Linked DNA regions of Homo sapiens: region 1 is linked to region 2. Evidence: promoter capture Hi-C in 16 types of primary human blood cells and fetal thymus (Javierre and others, 2016). All regions are on one chromosome and are shown on one strand. The core of a region is centred on a gene start or on the middle of the fragment in contact, and the rest is flanking DNA. Distances in the headings are between cores, read along the strand shown. Region 1 overlaps ZDHHC7 (zDHHC palmitoyltransferase 7). Region 2 holds the start of KLHL36 (kelch like family member 36).

Region 1 (5,847 bases), core at 3,208-5,707, 330 kb after region 2:
ACTCACTGGGCAACATTTGTGAGTCGCGCTTGAGTGCCCAGGTCACTTGTCATGGGCACAAAAGCATTTAGAGTTTCTGGAAACTGTTTGGGAGTGACCTTAACAGCCTGGGGCTGGGCCCACGAAGCACGGAAAGGCACCCCCTGAAAACACCACCATCCAGGAAGAACGGGCGCTTTGGAAGCCATTTGAGAACTGTTAATTGATTACTTTATTTCATATAAAAGTTACATTGAAAGAAGAGGTTGAAAAGTCAAGTATACTTGATTTGCACACACTTGCCAAGTCTCACAGGATTCAACCACTTGGATAATTGTTTTATTGATAACAGGATATACATATTAAAAGCCTCACACTGAAGCCCACACGCATGTCCAACCCAGACAACAATGTGCAAATGAATATGCAGAACAATCTCGGAAACTGGCGTCTCCAGGATCACCCACACTTTGTCCCTCTGGCTGTGACGCAGCTCTTCCCCCAACGGCGCACACGCTTCTGCGGTGACCAAGTCCACTTCCAAACCCCCTGCAGGTTTGCTCGCTTGGCTAGGACGGTGGCTCAGGTAGGTCCCTTTGTGGTTTTGCATCAGCAGTGGTAGAAGCCCTGATTCGGATGGGGTACAGAGTAATTAAAAACAAAAAACAGTTCACAGATGAACAGAAAGGCAAAACAATTCCCAGGAGGGAGACGCCAACTTCTCTTAGTGTGGAGGGCAAGCATAAAGGAAGACCCTCAGACTTTGTCACAGATTGCTTCTTGATGCGTCCGGCAAAAAATGTACAAACCAGGCAAGTTTAAGGCAAGGCCCCACGAGGGGAGCTGTTGGCTTTCTGGCATAATTTTAAGCTCCGCACCAAGGATCCTATTTTATCACCTGTGCCGTGGGTGGAGAAGAAAACGTAAAAGCTAACCAAAAACTCCAACAAGAGGGCGCCATCCTGGCCATTCCCGACTGGAGCGCTGCCTGCGGTGGCACAGTCGCCCCTGCCAGGGGCTGGCTGCCTCATGGTCCCCTCCCCTTCCCAGAGGTGCCCAATGGCTGGGCCCTGCCTCTCCAGTAAGGATGCCTCCCCTGCCCCACACACAGCATCGGGCTGCCCCAAGTATCAAGTCACCGAGCCGCAGCTCTGCTCTTACCTAGGTGCCATTTATACACTGCTAATTTGGCTGGAACAAAAAAAAAAAATCAGTTCCAAGGCCCTCAAGCACTCAAGATTTCTTTAAAAAATGAAAGCAGGAGGGCAACGAAGGGCCGCACAGGAACGGCTGTTCTTTGGATCGAGATGTCCTCCAACAGCAATACATTCATAGTAACCACGGGCAGGACCCCGCGGCTCTCTCCCCTCTTCCCTGAAACGTCGGTTTCTAAAAAATAGCTTGTTTGCTGTACACAGCCGGTAAATGTTACATTGCCTAAACAACACTGGCAATTTTGACACACATGCACACACGCGCGCACACGCACAGACACGCACACACACAGACTTGCTGAGAGGGTCAAAGGATGTCTCTTCCGGGGCAGCGGGGAGTGTGCCGGAAGCCACCTTCACTGTTCAGTGCACAGATCTTTTGCAACTTCAGTGCAAAGCATCGGAGCTAATCGAGACCAAAACGTCTTTCTATGTAAACGCCCTGCTGTGATCCGGGGAGTGCACTGCTGAGTGGCGGGGTCAGCAGGAGCCCCCTGAAATGACTGCTTGGAGAATCCCTGTTCACTGGATTCACTGTTTTTCTTCATGATTGGAAACAGCAGCTCAGGACCCAGGATTTGAATAACCCATGTAATAACCCGAAGTATTCTCCACAGAAGCCCCAGCTCTGCAGGAGGCCACGGCGTTTGGCTTCTTCGTGTGGCCACACACCTTTCCGTTGTTGTACAGGTGGGGACTGAGAGCCTCTTCCTCTGCCATCTGTGACTATAAATATATAAAACTCTGCTTGCTGCAAGCAATTGGTTTGTGTAGGTTCCAGTTGCCCTGTTGGTCACAGATGAGCTGTTGATATCCTTCAGACCCCAAATAAATAACTGGAAGTCTGTGAGCAAGTTTCAGTCTGATGAGCCACGCCTCACACTGAGAACTCCGGGCCACCTTTTCTGGGTCTCGTGGGCAGTCGCCTAAATCGGAAGCCCACAAAGGGATTCATCCAGAGGAGTGAGGGGGGCCCCCCAAAGACGGACTTCATCCCTTCCCATCGCAGCCTCCGCTCCCATGTGGGCTTCTCACTTTTCAATCGCTCGATCTCCTGGAAGCAGAAAGAAAAGCAAGTGGCAGCGGCTCCAGGAAGCTCGGCAGACCCCACCAAGCCTCAGAATCACACCGTGCTCAAGCACAGTGTGGGCTCGATGGAGGGTAGGTGAGTGAACTCTCCTTCCCAGCTCTGCCCCGATCCAGACCCCGTGGCCTCTGTGAGCCCAGCCCGGCTGCAGCCACGTGGCCAGCCCAGACTACCACAATGGCCCTCCCAGCCAGGCACCAACATTTGTCGCTCGTTAGTTACTGTGTACAGACATTTACTGAGCGCCACTCCAGGCCTGCAGAGCCAGGCCCTAAAGGCAGTCAGTTCCCTGAAATTTACTGACTGCACTGGGAGCTGGGAATCTGCCTGGCTCTGCTGACTTGCAAATCAAACTGAGACTAGAAATATGCACTGCCCAGAATGAAAGAAACAGCAAACACAGGGAGCTGGTTGCAGCTCATCAAGACCGTCCCATTACGTTCCCGAGTCAGTCCACAGGCACCTATTGTTGACATTAGGACTTTTCATTTACTCAAGCTTGGACCACATATGAAGTCCACACAGCCGAGAACAAAGCTTACCGTCTCGTCGTTGCATATGGAGTGGATTTGGGTGCCAAACATAACTGCAGTGAAAGTGAAAAACAGAAGACCCTCAAGGCACAGGAAGATCAACAGGATTACAGTTATCGGAGGTGAAAAATCACTGCATTCTGCGGACAAGAGGAAGTTGGTTATAACTGGTCCTGAATACCCCGAGTGGCAGAATGTTTGGCTCAGAGAAGAATCCTCTAGGGCCAGCCCCTGGCCAGCTTCCAGGGGGAAGTTGTTCACTTTCTAAATGGGCACATTCATTGTTCTCCAAGGAGCAGAGGAGGGCCACCCTTCCAAGCAAAAATTCATACCATGACTTCCTGGCCAGTGGTTTCAAAAGAGTCTGTATTTTCTGAGGTTTCTATTGACACTGTATTTATGAATTAAATGGCAAATGAAGCCAGACCAGAAGAGTTGTGTGCACCCATACCAGTGAGCAGTGCTCACAGGAGTCTGTTCACCATGTTCCCCTGGGGTGGGATGAGCCTGTCCAGACCTCACTGCATATCTAAGGTAGGATAACGAGCACCTATTTTCACTACACTTGCTTAGGGTCGGTCACTCACGTAAGCAACGTGAAGCCTGCTTTGAACAATGGCGAGCTAGCTGACCAGCAGACAGACACAAGCTTTTGGGGCAACAATATACTAGTAAAATGGTGGTGTTAAAACTTAACTAAATTCTTTAAAATTCAATTGCTAAAATAATTGCAATGATTTCCTTCAAAATTGGAAAACTGGTTCTTCCTTTAAAGCTTTCCCCTTTCATCCAATAACAGCATGCAAAGCCAGGAATGACACATAGCCAGGGAACTTACCAGTCCACTGCCCTCGGACACAGGAGATGAACTGAAATCCACAAAGGATCAGAGCATGGACTGAAGACAGAGCTATATACATCTAGAATGAGGGGGAGATTGGTTAGTCACTTTTATTTTTTATTTTTTTTAGAAACAGAGTCTCCCTCTGTTGTCCAGGCTGGAATGCAGCGGCGTAGTCTCAGCTCACTGCAACCTCCGCCTGCCAGACTCAAGCGATTCTCCTGCCTCAGCCTCTCAAGTAGCTGAGACTACAAGCACCATGCCCGGCTAACTGTTTTGCATTTTTAGTAGAGATGGGGTTTCACCATGTTGGCCAGGCTGGTCTGTAACTGCTGACCTCTAGTGATCCACCCAGCCAGTTAGTAACTTAAACAAGTCTTTCTAAGAGCAAAGGCTGATGACACATCATGTGTATACCTCCATCTTGTCAGAGAAAAAAATGAGGGAAGGATTAAATGGCAGCAGTTGACATTTTCCTACCCAAGATCATATTAGACCAAGTAGAATAATTTTATAGAAAAATATAGCTGGGCATGGTGGCTCACGCCTGTAATCCCAGCACTTTGGGAGGCCAAGACGGGCAGATGGCTTGAGCTCAGGAGTTTAAGACCAGCCTGGGCAACACAGCAAAACCCCGTCTATAAAAAAATAAACGGCCGGGCACGGTGGCTCACGACTGTAATCCTAGCACTTTGGGAGGCCGAGGTGGGCGGATCGCCTGAGGTCGGGAGTTCAAGACCAGCCCAACCAATATGGAGAAACCCCATCTCTACGAAAAATACAAAATTAGCCAGGCGTGGTGGTACATGCCTGTAATCTCAGCTACTTGGGAGGCTGAAGCAAGAGAATCACTTGAACTTGGGAGGCGGAGGTTGCAGTGAGCTGAGATCACACCACTGCACTCCAGCCTGGGCAACAAGAGCAAAACTCCATCTCAAAAAAAAAAAAAAGAAAAAAAGAAAAGAAAAAGGAAATAAACTCTAACATACTTTAGGAAGATTCCTGTTATTATTAATAAACAATAGCGATTGAGGACATCTGGGAGAGAATTAAATTACAGTGAACACCTAAAATAATACAAGCAACATATTACTTATTGGGACTACTTCCTGCCAATGACAGCACAGTATTATAATTTGAATCCTGGAGAAAAGGCTGGAGAGAAACTGGCCTGACGTTAGTAGATTTCTCTGCTCCAGGCAAGAAGCAGTTAAAGAATTTCAAATTCAATGTAAATTCAATACAAAAATATTTTTACTTACAGTGAAGAGCACAAAAAATCTTTGATTCTTTTCTCCTACACAATTGTTCACCCACGGGCAGTGATGATCCATTTTCCGAATACATCTTTTGCAAATACTGAAAAGGAGAGTTTGATTTTTCAGTATTCCATGCTCTGAGGAAACCAGAGTAACACAACCAAATAAAATCAAAGGTGGAGGAAAATTAGAATGTATATTCTAATACAACATGTCAAAAAATATCATACATTCTCACTATATTCCTTTAAGGTTTATCATTTTAATTAAATGTCTTCCGTTTCCTAAGGAAAATACTCAATGGACCAACAGCTTGGGGCGAAAGGTCAAACTAAGCCATACTTCACGAGTTCTCAGACACTCCCCCAGTAGAGCTGGATCATGTACACCTATCAGTAATGTTCCTAATTTTGCAAGCTTACAAGTCTATTTCAATAAAAAACAAAAACTGAAATTTTACCCTCAAGGAGAAACATTCTTTGTATCTTCAAATAATTCCTACCACTGAATCCATATTCACTGATGAATATGCAGTATGGATTGCATATTCATCTTGAATCATCAACTACACACCCAGGCATGAAGTCGTCTTGTTTTTAACAGCTGTATTTTACTTTTGCCCAAAACACTCTGTATGTCCAATTTTAAATAACTAATTTGATTATCGATTACTTTTTAGTCCAAGCTTGCACCATTTAATTACATCAAGCAGACATCGATGGCAGCAGGTTCGCTGCAGGCAGACTTGCTATCATAGCGTCACCTTTTTTTTTTTTTTTTTTTTTTTGAGATGGAGTCTTGCTCTGTCGCCCAGGCTGGAGTGCAGTGGCGCAATCTCAATCTCAGCTCCCTGCAAGCTCTGCCTCCCGGGTTCACGCCATTCTCCTGCCTCAGCCTCCCGAGTAGCTGGGACTACAGGCACCAGTCACCATGC
Region 2 (5,493 bases), core at 702-3,201:
TTGGATGAATGAGAGGCAGTGCATGAATTCATGTCAGAACAGAGATCCATCCACATGTCGGTATGGAGACAGAATAACAGGAGGATTAGCTTTGTCTGGGGTAGGGACAGGTCCAGGAAGGGTCAAAGACAGGCAAGTAAGGCTTGGCAGGGTGAATGTGTACAGTCCCCAAAGAAAAGGGGAGAGAGAGAGAGAGAGATGGGGGACAGCAATCCAGTCAGTGAGAACATCATTTAAAGATCCTTGGCTCACACCTGTAATCCCAGCACTTTGGGAGCCTGAGGCAGGCAGATCACCCGAGGTCAGCAGTTTGAGACCATCCTGGCCAATATGGTGAACCCCATCTCTACTAAAAATACAAAAATTAGCCAGGCGTGGTGGTGGGCGCCTGTAATCCCAGCTACTCAGGAGGCTGAGGCAGGAGAATCGCTTGAATCCAGGAAGTGGAGATTTCAGTGAGTTGAGATTGAGCCGTTGCACTCTAGCCGGGGTGACAGAAAGACTCTGTCTCAAAAAAATAAATAACCATCCCGGCTAACACGGTGAAACCCCGTCTCTACTAAAAATACAAAAAATTAGCCGGGCGAGGTGGTGGACGCCTGTAGTCCCAGCTACTTGGGAGGCTGAGGCAGGAGAATGGCGTGAACCCGGGAGGCGGAGCTTGCAGTGAGCCGAGATCCCGCCACTGCACTCCAGCCTGGGCGACAGAGCGAGACTCCGTCTCAAAAAAAAAAAGAAAAAAAATAAATAAATAAATAAATAAAATAAATAAATAAATAATTAAAAAATAAAGATCCTGTAAGTGGGCTGGGTGTGCTGGCTCACACATGTCATCCCAGCACTTTGGGATACCGAGGCACGAGGATCGCTTGAGCCCAGGGGTTCAAGACCAGCTTGGACAACAAACTGAAACCCTGTCTCTATAAAAATCAAAGAAAAAAAAATAGCCAGGTGTGGCAGCCGGCACCTGTGGTCTCAGCTGCATGAAAGACTGAGGCAGGAGGATCACTTGAGCCTGGGAGGTGGAGGCTGTAGTGAGCACTACACAAAAGAAATCGCTGATCCTTCAGCAGCCATTTCCCACTCCAGCAACTCCCCGCCCCTGGCAACCACTCATCTACTTTCTGTCTCTATGGATTGGCTTGTTCCGGACATTTCACATACACGGAATCATACAGTGTGTGGTCTTTTGTGTCTGGCTTCTTTCACTAAGTATTACATCTCCAAGGTTCATCCCGCTGTAGCATGAGCGAAGTGTGACAATTGATAGATGGATCGATGAAGGTTACATTCATTCATTCCATACACATTTACTGAGCACCTACTGTGTGCCAGTCTTGGCGACGACCCAGTCAGGAATAGAACTAACAGTAAACCCTGCCCTGGAGGGCTTCTGGTAGGGAGGAGAGACAATAAACCGAATAAACTAGTACATTATTTGGAATATTAGACGCTGATAAGAGCTCAAGTGAAGCATGGGGTTGGAAGTTGGGTGCAGAGAGAGGGGCTGTGACTTCGAGCAGAGCGGTCAGCAAAGGCCTCGCCGCAGGGTGGCCGCAGGGACGCTCCCGCTCAGCCCGGAAGGAGGCGAGAGGCGCGGTGCCCGTCCCGGCGACTCTGGGCCAGCAAAGAGCTCCCAGCGCACGCGTCGGTGCCTCGAGGCCCGGGACCCTGCGTGTCTGGTCCCCGCCGTGGCCCTGCGTCCGTGACGGTGGGTGGCACCAGGGAGCATTTCGCGCGGCGGGGCTGGGGCCTGCCTTTGAAGGGACGGAGTCGGGCGTCGTGGTGGGGTGGACACCGGGGATCCCCGGGGCGCGGACGAGGGGGGCGTCCACCCTGCGAGCTCACCCCACGGCCCCCGCGTCCCGCCCTCAGCCGCAGGCCCCGCCCCGCGCCGCCCGGCCCCGCCTCCCCGCGGCCGCCGCCATTGGCCGCGCGCGCCGCCTCCGCCCTCGGCCTCGCACTTCCTGGCGGAGCCATGGCTGCGCAGCGGGCTGGCCGGGGGTCTCCTGAACCCGGGCCCCGCCGCCCCGACCGCCCGGCCCCGCCGCCGGGGCTGTCCCCGCCGCGTCCGTAGCGCGTCCTGCCAGGTGGGCCTCCGCGCGCGCCCACCCTCCAGCCCGGGACCGCCAGGAAGCCGCGCCCGGCCGGGGCGGGGAGCTGGCGGAGATCGGGAGGGTCCCCGGCCACCGCGAGCCGCGACCCCCCTGCGCCCCTTGGTGCCGGGGCGGGCGGGTGGGCGAGTGGGGGCGCCGCGGCCGGGGGAGGGGCCGCCGCCCCCGCAGGTGACACAGGTGCGGCCTGTGCGGACCGCCCCGCGCGTGGCAGGTGAGTGGCCCCCGCCCCGGGCCGTCCCGACTCCGCCTCCTCGCCGCCGGCTGGAGCCTGCTGGGCGGCCGTTGCGCTGAGTTCCGCCTGGGCTGCGGGGTCCGAGCGAACGACAGCGGCGTCCCCGGAGACCCCGCCGGCGAGCCGGTGTCAGCAGCGTCGCTTTCTCCAACGCTGAGGTCGGGAGGGAGCTTGGGGAGGAGGCGCTCTGGGAAACCCCCGGCCGGACGGGGCCTGCGGTCCCATGTTTACTGGAAGACCTTTTCCAGTGACCTGGGATTGTCACTGTGCTTGGGGGTGGCCTTGACCCTTCACCTGCTTCCAAAAAGCGTCGGAGGCCGCTGACGTCCAACACGGGTGGAAATCAGACCCCACCCCCACGCACTTGCAGGAGACAGCAGGGAGCCTCCGGCCCCGCGAACTCTCTCTAGGTATCTTGGCCTAGAAAATAAAGCGTTGAGCGTTAGAAGGCCTGGTTGATTCTGGGCAGGCTGCCTGGGGCGGTGGAGAGAGAGGGCACCTGCTGCTTGCTGTTCTGTGACCTTGGGCAACCCCCCCTGGGGCACCCGAGCGCCAGGTCTCACTGTGGGAACGACGGTGTCACCTCTCAGCGTGAAGGTGGAATGAAGTCGAGTCCGCGGTGGGCACCGCACCAACGCTGGGTTTCTTCTCTTCCCTCTCTGGGCTCTCCAGCATCCTAGGGGAGGGCCGGGGTGGGAACAGCTTGTCATTGTCACAAAGTTTCTAGTTTGTCGAGAGGAATCCAGTTGCCCCTTCTCTCCCTAGGGGAGTTGCACGGGACGGACTGTGCCCGAATTCATTCCTTCCATGGGAACACTGGAGTGCCCTCCCTGTGTCCCCAGTTATCTAAGAACAGTGCTGACTTCTTGTCACATTGTTCTTTATTAGTGAAGACTATTTGTTCAATAGGTAACAAACTCTTCTCATGAACTCAAATAGCGGGGGAAAAAAATCCTCTTTAAAACCTTCGTCTCAGTATGTGACTTGTGCTAATATTAGTTGGCAAAGTCCCTTCTCTGTGTTCCCTTCCATCTTTGAAGCACCTGCCCCTCCCCCTGCCTCCCCCGCCCCCCACACACCAAAGCTTAACTCTGTCTGCAGTGATCCCCCACCCAAGAGCCAGGCAGTGTAGCCTAAGAGTTAAGAGCATGGGCGCTTCCCTGAGCTGGAATCCCAATTCTGCCAGTTCCCAGCTGTGTGACGCCGGGCAGCTTATTTCACCTCACTGCTCTCAGCATCCTCCAGTCACAGTGCTGGCCTCATGGGGTTGCAGTGGGGACTAAGTGAAGATGCAGAGAAGCACTTGGGGACAGTGTGTGTCTAGAATGTACTGTGTACATGGTAGTCATCACTGTACCACATCCTCATCTGCATCATGATATTTTTAAAGTGTGATACTCTCGAACCCGGGCCTCATTCAGCAGCGTGTCATGGTGATGGATCCAGGTTTTGAAGCTGGACAGACCGAGGCGTGATTCTCGGCCGTTTACTAGCTTTGTGACCATGAGATCAATATCCTCATCTGTGAAATGAAATAAGTGATATCAGCCTGGCCAAGTATAATCTTTGTGGGGGTTAAATGAGATGGCACACTTAAGTCACTTAGCTTGGTTCGAGGGCTGTAGTCTGGGCTCCGAAATGATAACTTATCATTATAACCTTGATGTAGCCAAAAGGTAATTATTTGTAGGAAGTGAACCAAATGACATGATATCAGATTTTAGATGATAAAGGAATGGGAGTTAAATGTTCTGTCCAATTCTAACAACCCGATGATTTCTCAACTCGGTGTAAAAGAGTTCTTTGTAGTGCACGGTCCTCCCTCCCTCCTTCTTCCGTGTGACTGTTTTCACTGTCATCCTTGGTATCTGCTAGCAGGGCCTGAAATTAATGAATGACCTAGAGTTATGACTGCATGCTCAGAAATCCTGTTCTTCTCCTAGGGCTGAAATCTCTTTAATGATGGAGGGAAGCAGGCAGACGCGAGTGTCTCGGCCATACAAGATCAGCGAATCATCAAAGGTCTGTGAATGTTCACTCACCACCTATGCAAATTGCCTAAGAAGTGTGATCCTTTTTCTGATTCACTCATTTCTAATCACAGACTGATTTTTTTGTCATTGGTGTTGTCAGTCTCCTTAATGACAAGTAAAGGTGGAAACGGGCAAGGAGCAGAAATTGTCATAAAATCAGACAGTGGGAAGTATGAGGGATGGTAGAGACGCTATGGCCAGATGTCTTCATTTTTCCATGTGACATTCCGGAGCTTTCTTTTTGTGACAACTTGACTCATTCGTTAACCCAAGGAGGTGGATGGGACAGGAAGAAAACTGGGATTCCCATGCCTGCTTGGGGGCTCAAAAACTCCAAGGACAGGTCCATTGAGAACCCAGCCTTCTACCTTAGGGTGAGGGCAACACACCGTGTACCCGGACCCCAAGGGCCTGGAGTCGTCTTCCCTGGTCATGATTCCCTGCGACCTAAGAGCAAGTGAGGGCAAGTTCCCCAGAGCCAGGCTACTGGGGGAGTTCTAATTAGAAATATGTAGCCTGTTCCCACCAGCCACATTAAAATCCAAGAGCCAGACCCGGCTGCTATACTTTCCACAAACTCCTGTCCCCACAGCTGCTGTTGGTAAAGAGTGGGGGAGCCATTGGTATGAGGTTCCTGGTAACCTGTTTCCCCGTTATAAATATTCGTAATGCCCTCTGTTCTTTAGAGGTATCCCTTTTGGAGATTAAATCTTATGGTTACCTCAGATCATGGATTCTCAATGAGTATGATATTGCCCTGAAGTGGGAGAAAATTGGTTCTCGGGAGGGTGGAAGGAATTTTACTCCTTTTATGCATAAGACACAATTATACATACAGTACATGAGCAGACATACAGTGCATCTGTGATGTTAAGATTTTGCTGGGGAGGCTATTAGGGAAAAAAATCTTAAAAGCCTTCTTGTGGGGCAATAATGAAAAAAGATACAGAAACACTTCTTTAGATGAAGGGAGCTGGCAGCAGCCTATAGAGTTGAGAAAAAGGGGGAAAGAGATTCTACAGATTCTAAAAGAAAAACTGGCTGTCATTTTCAAGAGAGGTTGGCTCTCTTGAGATATGACCTCCTGTTCTCACGTGAGTTCCCCAAGAAG

What was found. The method cuts DNA at HindIII sites, captures the fragments that hold promoters and counts their contacts. A CHiCAGO score of 5 or more calls a contact.
Region 1: a contact is called between a fragment that was not itself captured here and the fragment with the promoter of KLHL36 in region 2, in 4 of 17 cell types (endothelial precursors, monocytes, M0 macrophages and 1 more). The highest score is 6.4, in endothelial precursors.

What each region holds. Positions count from the first base shown.
Region 1 is chr16:84,974,273-84,980,119 of GRCh38, forward strand. ZDHHC7 (zDHHC palmitoyltransferase 7) reads right to left here. Exons shown (of 8, transcript NM_017740.3): 5 at 4,917-5,013; 6 at 3,652-3,733; 7 at 2,823-2,953; 8 at 1-2,247. The coding sequence ends at 2,071. Among named protein-coding and RNA genes, the nearest start is that of ZDHHC7, 34 kb to the right of the region's middle. RefSeq lists an enhancer at 2,059-3,258. The HindIII fragment of the contact is 1,742 bases long and covers 3,587-5,328 here.
Region 2 is chr16:84,646,560-84,652,052 of GRCh38, forward strand. KLHL36 (kelch like family member 36) reads left to right here and starts at 1,952. Exons shown (of 5, transcript NM_024731.4): 1 at 1,952-2,090; 2 at 4,293-4,371. The coding sequence starts at 4,309. LOC105371376 (a long non-coding RNA gene) reads right to left here and starts at 3,020. Exons shown (of 4, transcript XR_933817.2): 1 at 2,933-3,020; 2 at 2,644-2,769. RefSeq lists silencers at 1,616-1,785, 1,846-2,035, 2,246-2,525. The HindIII fragment of the contact is 5,630 bases long and covers 1-3,431 here.